3 separate regions of the Homo sapiens genome follow, and all the other regions are linked to region 2. The links are contacts of gene promoters, found by promoter capture Hi-C in blood cells and fetal thymus (Javierre and others, 2016). All regions are on one chromosome and are shown on one strand. The core of a region is centred on a gene start or on the middle of the fragment in contact, and the rest is flanking DNA. Distances in the headings are between cores, read along the strand shown.

Region 1 (3,505 bases), core at 543-3,042, 1.3 Mb after region 2:
TTCAGTGACTTGATACGATTTAAATTTAAAATAGTTATTCTGTCAGCTGTGCTGAGAATAGGCTGTAGAAGTGGGCACGAATGAAATCAGTGTGACCAATTGCAAAATTCAGGTGAGAGATAATTGTAGCTCCACCTGGGCTAGTGATAGTGAAAGTAGTGTCAGTAGATGATTAAATTCTGGATACTTTTTATAATGGGAAATTTCAAACTTATACAAAAGTACAAAGAATAGAATAATAAACCCACATGCACCCACCTTCCAACTTCAATAATGATCTACTTATGACCAACTTTTTTTTTTAAATCTACGACTTCCCACTCCTTGCTTTACAAGATTATTTTGAAGCAAGTTCCGGACAGCAAATCATTTTATTCATAAATATTTCAATATGTAATCTTAAAAGATAAGGAACATTTTTAAAACAAAAATAGACTATCACATTTTTCAAGTAAGATTAAATTCTTAACATCATCAAGTATTAAATCAGTGTTCAAATTTCCTTTATTGCCTTATACTGTACTAACTTTTTAATTAGATTGAATTAATAACTAAATTATAATTGATTTGTAAGTCTCTTAAATCTTCAAAAATCTACAAATCTCCTTTTAGTTTTTTCCTTGCAATTTATTTTATAAAGAAACTGGGCTATTTGTCCTATGAAATTTCGTATATCCTGGATTTCTTCTGATTACATTATTATAGTGTCATTAAATCGTGTTCCTCTCTTAACTTTAGTTCCTGTTAATTGGCTGTTAAATATCTAGAGACTTGACCAGAATTCTTCATAGATGGTTTTTATGAACACCTATCAGCAGCCACATGTTTGGTTATCTCTTTTAGGAATGGTAATGACCATTTCTGGTTACTGCCTTGACCCAGTATTTCATTAGATATTTTAAAAATGGGGATTTTCTTCTTCTAACATTTTTTCTTCAATTATTAGCTGGAATATTTTTATTTTTTCTTCATTTACTCCAGAAAGTAGAGCCTGAGACAAAGACTTGGATGCTGATAATTTATTATAAAAAGTGATTCCAGGAAACAAGATTAGGAAGAATGAAAGAGGGAAGGAGAGAAAGCCAACAGAATGGTATGCTGTTGAGTTGGCCACCATTGTGGGCACCTGAGATACAATCTTACTGGATTTCCAGAGTACCTGTGTAGAATGTACTTCACACATTTCTTTTCAAGGACAGAAGAGGCAAATTTATCCTCTGGCTCTGGTCCTCCACTAGCCAGTGGCCAATTTATGGGATATTAACTTTTTTTTATTCTAGGTTGTGTATGTACTGAGTGCCAGGAAGATTTCAGCAAGTGTTCCACACTAAAGTGACTGAGTCTCCCCAGAGCAAACAGAAAGAGACTAGTGGTACAGCTGAGGCAATGTGTTTTTAGGTTACAGCTACCTGAAACAGTCCTAAGTAATGGCCAGAACAGAAAGTAAAGCAAGAGGTTATGAGGCAGTACAAAAAACTTGCATGAGAAGAAAATTTCCCCAATTAACTATTTGATCATTTTGAGGTACAGGAAAATAAAACTTGATCTCACATTCTTATTTTTACCAGTTTTCAAAATAATGAGTTGCTTTGCTAGCATCCTCTATAGATGACTGGCCAAGGTGTGTTACTGTGTGTGTGTGCTTCTTTGAGGTACCATAATAAACTGGTAATATAAACGTATTTGGTAGGTTTGAGTCCACTGTGTATATAATTCTTATTGATGAGAAATTACTATAAGTGTTCTCAATAGCTATGCCTTCAAGTTGGCTCCTAAGTCTTTAACGGTCTTTGACAGCTTCCTTGCACTCTGGTTTAACAACATAGCAGAATTTCTGCTCCAGACCTTCAATCAGCCATGTCTCTAAGGACATGGTTCTATTAATAAGGAATAGTATTTAGAGATTACTTTCTGGACACTAAAGATGGATATATTTTAAAAGCAGATGCAAAAGGATTTCCTGATTGGACATGGAGCATGAGCAAAAATAAGTGTAATACAAGATAGCTCCAAAGTTTCTAATTTGTTCAACTGGAAGAATAGAGCTGCCATCGAGTGAGAAGGGGCAGTTTTCAGGTCAAGCAGGTTTGGGAAGTGAAACTGGAGGTAAAATTTGTACGTGGTGAGTTTATAATTCTATTAAAAATTCAAGTGTGGATATGCAATTGGATATAGAAGCATGGATTGGATTCATGGGCATATAGGTAAATGTTGGGAACCATGAGAGTTGTTGAATTCATCAATAAAGAATATTTAATTAGAGATAAGATGAGGACCAATGATTAAGCCTTCAGATAGTCCTTATGACAAAAGTAAGAGGTTGGTGAAATAAGTCGGTACCAGAAAAGATAACTGGAAAGCAGTGTCTAGTGGCTTAGGAAGCAAACCAATGTGGTATCCTGGAAGCCAAGTGAAGAAGGTGCTTCCATGTGTAGGTAATGATCAATTGTGCCAGTGCTGCTGAAAAGGGAAGAAAAACCAGGACTGAGAATTGTTCATTATATTTAGCAAGTTGACATAATTAGGGATCTTACAAGTGGTTTCAGTGGTATTTTAGAAATGAAAGTAGAATTGGATTGAGCATAAGCTATATTTGCATACAAGCTGCTGGTCCCTCTATTCTGTTTCACTGATTCATTTATCTCTGCCTGGGCCATTACTGCACAGTCTTAATTACTACGTCTTAACAGTAAATCCCACTATCTAGTAGAGCAAATTCCTCTTCCTTACTCTTCAGAAGTATCTTAACTATTCTTAATCTATTAGTCAGCTATAGACATGTACATAGAAAATCCAAAAGAGTCCACAAATAATTGAATAGAATGAAAAGAAGAGTTTAGCAAAATGACTGGATTTCAGAGCAATATATAGAAAGTCAATTGTATTCCTACATACAAGCAGCAAAAGCTAGAAAATGTAATGAACAAAAAGACACTTTTATAATAATCAAAGTGAACATCAAGGAATATCAAATATCTGGAAAAAAGTATTTATGCAAGATCTCTAATAGGAAAATTATAAAACATTATCAAGAAATATAAGAGAAAGCCTAAACAAATAAAGAAATATATCATCCTTATAGAGAGGAAAATTTAGTGTTATACCGAAGCCAGTTCTTCTCACTATATTATATCAAGATTAATGGAGGAGAGAAGAGGACTAAGGTAGGGCTTCAGAGAAAAGTTGCACTTGGAGGAGGGAAGAAGCAGAGGAGTCAAGCAAGAATTTCTGGAAGATGCAAAGAGTCTTCTTCAAGGAGTATTATGAGAGAGTGCCTTGGCAAATAAGGATGAAGAACATTTCCAGAAAGATTGAATAGTCAATAAAACTTGATTATATCAAGGCTGGATTTAAAATGTTCAGATCTGGCAATTAGGAAGTCATCACTGAGTTTTGCGAGAAGAGTTGCAAGGAGAGAAGTGAATGGGTAGGAGGGAAGTGGAGACAGTGGACTTAGAAAATGAAAGAAAGGAGAGAAAGAGATGTTAGCCTGATGAGATACAAT
Region 2 (3,245 bases), core at 159-2,658:
TTCATTTTTGTAGGATATAGGACTATGCTACAATTTTATGTAGAATCTATTTAGAATCCTATACAGAATTCCAGACTAACATGTTTCACTTTCAGCTCTTTAAAGATGTCATTCCATTGTTTTGGAGTAATTGTTTCTGAAGAGAAATTAGACATAATTTTTATCATTTTTTTCTTCCGTGTAATGTTTCTTTTTTCTCTGACTGCTTTTAAGATTTTTGTATCATCTTTGGCTATCAACAGAGTGAGTATGGTGTGCCTAGTTCTGTTTTTGTGTTTATCCTCTTTTGGGGTTACTATGATTCCTGATGCTGAGGTTTGATATTTTTAATCAATTTTGAGAAATTCTTGGCCATTATGTTTTCAAGGATTTCTTCTGACTCATTTTCTATCTCTCACAGATGCAATTACATATTTACTAGGCTACTTAATATTGTCCTAGAGATCATAGACTCAAGTTTTTCACTCATTCCCCCTTTTATTTATTTATTTATTTTTGGATAATTGACCTGTCCTCAGGTTTACTTCTGCTTTTTGCTGCTGCTAATAGGCTACTGTTGTGTTTTATGGCCTGTTAGACTCCTAATATGTATTCTCTTTTGATGACAGTGTATTTTAAAAACAAATTTTGACATTGCAGTTTGGTTTCTTTTCATACTTTTCATTACTCTGCTGAAATTCTCTATATATTCATGCATGCTCTCTACCTTTTCCACTGAATTATTTGACATATTTATCATAGTTATGCTGAAGTTACTCCCTGATAAATCTAACGTCTGTGCTTTCTAGAGTCTCAGCCTGTTGACTGTTTTCTCATTTGATTATTGCTCACATTTTTTCTCTTTGTGGGTCTCAAAATTTTTTACTCTATGTTGGATATTGTGAGAAAAATAGTAGAGATTGAGAAAATTAATATTTATTTACCCTAAAAAAGTGCATACTTTTTTTGTTAGACCTTTTCTTGGGAAAGTTGAGGAAATCTGTTGTATATTTGAGGTATGTGGGATTATTTCAGCTTTAGTTGGATTAGTTTACCACTGACTTCAAATGTTTTGAAAACAGAATAAGGTCTTTTCTATCACTAGGGCTTGTGATCTGAGCACTGGCAAGATTTCAGAGATCTCTGTGTGCTCCCAGACTGTTTTGGTTGCTAGGGAGTTCTTTTTCCTTTCCTGTTTCTGACTTTATTAATCTCAGGAGGTCTCTCTTCTTTTTGCTCTGCTGCTTCAAGCCTTTGGCATCCAGTGCCTTGTACTTAATGAAAGTTTGCAACACTCTGAGCAACTGTTCTCAGTTCTTCTGCCTTATTTCTGGCCTCCGTTGCAACTGTTTTGACCTAGTGAAGGCCTAGACTTTCTCAGACAGATTTCTTTTAACTCTTCTGCCCTGACTCCAGTCTTCACTGGGATGCTGCCTTGCACTTAGGGAAGGTTCACATGCCTCAAGGATCTCTCTCTCTCAGATTTCTTGACTTTCCCTCAGTCTTCAGTATAGTCCTCCTCTGTGCCTGGTGAAGACCTGTGGTAAAGTGCTGGCAGGTGAGTACAGCTTGATGGTGTGGATGGGTTCCTTGGGACTCCAGCATGTCAAGCTAGTTCACACACAGGTCTTAATAGTTGTCTAAGATTCATGTAGTTCCTCATTTTCTTTTCTGTGGTAGATTCTGTTTCCTGCTGCACCACCAGGGATGAAAAAATTCACTGGTCTCTTCTTTTATAGAACGGGATCATAACTATACAGATTTTAGTTAAGTTAGCTTTATTAGTATTCTCAGCTTTTTTAATGGGATAAAAAGCAATGATATTATGGATTATCTGACTTTTCCTTTAGTATTAGGTTTGCCCAATCATCTCCATGATTTCTAAATTCCAAACTTCTTGAATAAATAAAATTTAAAAGAAAACATTGTACTAAAGTCAAAAGAAGGGTTTTAAGGCATAGTTCTACTTTTTACTGTCCATGTATCCTTGGATAAACTACTTCTCTGAAATTGTATTGCTTGCTTTTTCAGCTTGTTGAGTCTTTCATAAATTTAAGGGTTGGAATATGTCTCTCAGACAGAAATTGATAGAGCTTTGCAAGTCTTCAGATGTATTCAAGTTTGGTAAACACTGGGTTAGGCCATGGATAAAAGATTGGTCTTTGTGTGTTCATAAGAAAACCTGGATAGGAAGCTCTTCTTCTTACAGAAAGCCTCGATTGAGAAGTAAAGCTGGGACTATTAGTCCGTGTTCTGCAGTGAAATAATGGTAGCCATGCATAGATTGATTTAAGATCTATGCATGTTAAGATACCTGTCTTAACACAGGTAATAGTCACATCAGGGAAAAGAGCAACAGGCAGAACTCTTGGCTTTGTGTAAGAGCCCAAGGAAAGGGCCTGAGAGAGTACACACTGTATCAAAGTGTAGTGTTAATGTGAGGTGTCGGGAAAAAGGTCTTGGGTGTGTGTGTGTCTGCATAATATATGTGTGGAAAACTCTCAGTGCTGGTCCTTTGAGATATGTCTGTGAAAACTCTTTCAATTAACAAAAATAACCAACATTAATTGAATACTTTTTATGTGCCAGTCACTGTTCCAAGTTCTCTACAAAAGGTAATTCTTTAGTCCTTATAGTAATACTGTAGTGGTGCTGATACTATTTTTATCTTCATTTTTCAGAGAGGAAGCTAAATCACGTAAAAATTAAGAAACAGCTCAGCGTTTCACAGCTAGTAAGTAACAGAGATGGGCTTGAGACCCAGATTGGCAGGATCCAGGTCTTGTGCTCATGACGACTCTGCTATGGTGCCTCCCTTGAAAGCATCTTAGTGCTTTCATTGTTGTTTTTGTTATTGTTATTCTTACTATTATTTTGTACCCCCTTGGTGGATAGTGGCTGTGAATTTGTAGTTGTTGGTGTGTTTCTTCTGGAGCGTAAGCTCCTTCCTCCTCTATTGTTAGCCAGAGTTTTTGTTACCTTTGAAATAATTGCTAAATCAACAAAACATCTGTTACATTGCTGCTGCTCGAATGGCTATCTTTTAGAATTAGCACTCTTCTTTCTGAATCTGATGCCACAGCCTTTTGAACTTAAGGTATTTGGATGTGTCAGTAAAGGGGCTGTGGTAGCTGTGGTGACAGCAACTCCAATGGTGGTGACCGTAGAGAATGTGGCAGAGCTGTGAATGAGATGAAGAGATTTAGTGATGGCAGAGGAAACTTTGGGATTTCACAACTTTCTTCCTCCAAAAACTATTTGAAAGC
Region 3 (3,403 bases), core at 413-2,912, 1.2 Mb after region 2:
ATGCATATGTGCAGGCATGTGCATATGTGTTCAAATATGTAAGTATATATTACAAACTGATACACATATTTATATATACAGACATACATAAACATTTTAATCCACACACAGGCACATAACTGGCAGGCGTTATTCTAAGTGCTTTTCATGTGTTTACTTGCTTTAATTCTCACAGCCTACCCAAGGGCTACTGAGAATCCCACTCCATCATGTTTCAGCATTGTGTAGTTAGTACGGTTGTCACTCTGAAACAGAAAGATGAGAATGTGATAATGTAATGAAAAAATAGTGACTCTTATGTCAGGAAACCGGTTCCAAATTTTGTGGCCTTTCCATTTATTTATCTTAGTTTCCTTTACTTGAACATGTGAATAATACCACCTGTGGGCTTATCACATAGCGGTGTCTTGAAAAGCAAATATAATTCTACATGTAGCAGCTTTTTGTACTATTGAATATGATTGACTCCCATGTTGGTAAAAGAGATATGCTTTTAGCCTCAACTTATCTTTCTCAGGTAGTCAAAATGCTCTCATACCTCTATAAGAAATCTTTTGTGACCTTGACTTACTTTAATGATCTTTTCTCATTTTTAACCAGAGGTGGGAGTAATCGCTGGTTTGATTTTGTGGTTGTTTATGTAATTACTCAGGATTTTACTCTGTGCCTCAAGCTTACAGGAGAGTCACTGAAAAAATGTTTGATACATAATATCATGTAAGCCTATAGGTTCATTCATGATATATATATATACACACACACACACACACACACACACTCCACACACACATGCACCCCACATAAAACTATATATATATATATATATATATACACAGTTATGTGTATATAACTATATATATATATTTTAGTTGGCTTAGCTGTAATAATCTTAAATTATAAATACAGCGTGTTCCTAGTGCTTAAAAATTGTAAGTCAGCCTAATGCTAAGGATGGAAAAGGCTATAAGAGGAGTTCTAGATATAATTTGCCATGCTGTAGAAAGTATGGTTACAATGCAGGAGAGAAGCTTATCCCTTTTCCTAGTTACTATGTAACAAATTGCACCTTACTTAGAAAGCTACACTGTGCTCAGTGCTTAATGAAGACAATGTTCCCTCTACAGATCAAAACGGATCCCTCACTCCAGCTCAAGCTTTTTCCTGTTTTTAAATGGATCTTTAAAAATAATGCATGACTTAAAAAATCATAAAGAACTCTAATGCTGCTAAAACATAGAGACTTGAAGAATGCATACAATATCTTGTTTTCCCAAATTATTTAGAGAATAAATTCTTTAAGTAAAAAATAAACAAGGAAGGAAGGGAGGGAGGGAGGGAGGGAGGAAGGAAGGAAGGAAGGAGAAGAGAAGAGGGACGGAGTAAAGAAAAGGAAGGAAGGATGGAAAGAAGGAAGAGAGAAATTGGGAAGAAAAATAATCATGGGATTAATTTATCTAACTTTTTGTCCCTTTACTTCTTTTCCCACAAATGTCCAGCCACCAATTCCAAATTCCTCTCATACTGTTTTTTTTTTTTTTTTGGCATTTTCTTTGGAGAAGAGCCTTACTGTGGGTTTCAGAGTAGAAATCCATAAATCAGTCCCACCGTTGACTAAGATCTCTTGTGCACACCTGCTTCGAGGATTAAAATCTGGACAGGCATACCATGATTGCACTTTTCTCTGAGGATTCATCTCTGGGTGGGTGTGTTGGTGTTATACTATTGCCTGTGCCACTTTTTCTGTGTTTTGTTATTTTTTTGTGAAGTGTGAAACTTTTTTTTTTTTTAAGCAATTGATGACTTTTTTCTCTCTCAAACAAATGAATAAAGTCCTGTTTTACACTCTGGCAAAATTTCACTGGGTCTTTGAGAAAGACAAACAGAGCCAAACAGTGACACCCAGCCCCCAAATGGATGCAAATCATGTAATTAGAAAAATTTTAGTATCCATAGTGTTCAGTTCTTCTTTAGGCTAAGAGGTCCAGCGTCAGGGCTAAGCGAAGGAGGAGGAAAGAAAATAAAGGAAATATTCCTGCAAGGTCCTTCCTAGAAAGATAAGAGTTAGCCTTCAGGAAGGAGTAAATTGACTTTTTCATTAAAATGCTTTTGTAGACAGTGCTAGTTTAACTATTTGCTTTAGCAGGGCTAGGTGGATAAATGGTGAATGCCATGAAGCTTATTTTCAGGGACATTCGATCTGCTCCCTAAATTCCATCTCAGAACCTCCCATTTTCAATCGTCTCTTACCTTTAGGCTCTCTTAGATTTCCCTGAGTTCTATCCCCTCCAACAAAGAGGTAGTATCCAAAATTGCCACCTGTGTGAATAAACAGCAAAAAAAAAAAAAAAAAAAAGTCTGAATTTACATGAAGGTATTTGCTTCTCCATTTGCTTTTTAAAGCTTAATTTCTAATTTTGGAGCAGTCTAAGTAAAGATGAAGGATCGATATGCAGAGGTACTTCTCCACCAGGGTAATAATGCCTAAAACTCCTTCCAAATCAGAGGTATTTGACTTTGAGGCTGCATCTGAAAGTATTTATTAAACCTCCAAACATGCCTAAACTTAAAGCCAGGGAGATATTTAGGAAACCTAACATTCAAAAATCTAATTCCAAGCATAGTAAAGCTAATAGCATGGTAAAACAAGTCTCATCAAGTTATATGATTGCCAGCAGCTCACATTTGAATTTCTTAAATCCTTTAAATATTCAAAATACATTTATTTATAACAACTCAGAAATAGAAACTTGGAATTTTAGATATATATATTTCTCATATATATATTTCAGATATATATATATATATATATATATATATATATATATATTCACAAGTTACTCTCTTCTCTGGGATGGGGGCTTTCCTTTGAATACATTTCAGGAGAAGAAATTTAAAGTTTAATGTACAATTTCTGAGTGCCTGTCATACTGGCTCTTTACAGCAGCCTGCTCGAAGACCCAGGCACATGGCCAAATAGAAAATCAGATAAGGATGCTAAAAAGAGGGGACCTCTGGCAATGACTTCCCCATGTTATTGACTCCATAAGAAAAGGCTCAAAAAGAAGATAATTTCCCCCAATCCTTCCATCCTCAGAAAATTTTATTATAAACCATAGATAATAAGAGCTCACAAGGAAAGAAAAAGTAATACTATCCATAGGACACTGTAGAGTTAGATCACACAGGGAGAGACCTTTCTAAATCACCAAGGTAGCTGTTAAAAATGCAGTTTCCCATAGGCACCCTCAGAGATTTGATGAATCTTATGTGGGACCTAGAATCTTGCATTTTCAGCAACCAGCACCAGATGATTTTAGAGTAGGTGGCTCTTGATCCTCACTTTTGAAACACCGAAGAGAGGTTAGAACTAGCCCTATGATGACTTAAATTAAAATGTAGGAGT

The links. Contacts are between HindIII fragments. The CHiCAGO score rates a contact against its expected background, and 5 or more counts as called.
Region 1: a contact is called between a fragment that was not itself captured here and the fragment with the promoter of LINC01088 in region 2, in 2 of 17 cell types (total CD8 T cells and fetal thymus). The highest score is 8.7, in total CD8 T cells.
Region 3: a fragment that was not itself captured here is called in contact with the fragment with the promoter of LINC01088 in region 2 in 1 of 17 cell types (fetal thymus); the score reaches 5.4 in fetal thymus.

What each region holds. Positions count from the first base shown.
Region 1 is chr4:80,227,256-80,230,760 of GRCh38, forward strand. No RefSeq gene overlaps it. Among named protein-coding and RNA genes, the nearest start is that of PRDM8, 32 kb to the left of the region's middle. The HindIII fragment of the contact is 3,701 bases long and covers 1-3,505 here.
Region 2 is chr4:78,970,340-78,973,584 of GRCh38, forward strand. It overlaps LINC01088 (long intergenic non-protein coding RNA 1088), which reads left to right and starts at 1,409. Exons shown (of 6, transcript NR_038342.1): 1 at 1,409-1,537; 2 at 2,661-2,713. The HindIII fragment of the contact is 4,785 bases long and covers 1-3,245 here.
Region 3 is chr4:80,209,105-80,212,507 of GRCh38, forward strand. No RefSeq gene overlaps it. Among named protein-coding and RNA genes, the nearest start is that of PRDM8, 13 kb to the left of the region's middle. The HindIII fragment of the contact is 1,021 bases long and covers 1,153-2,173 here.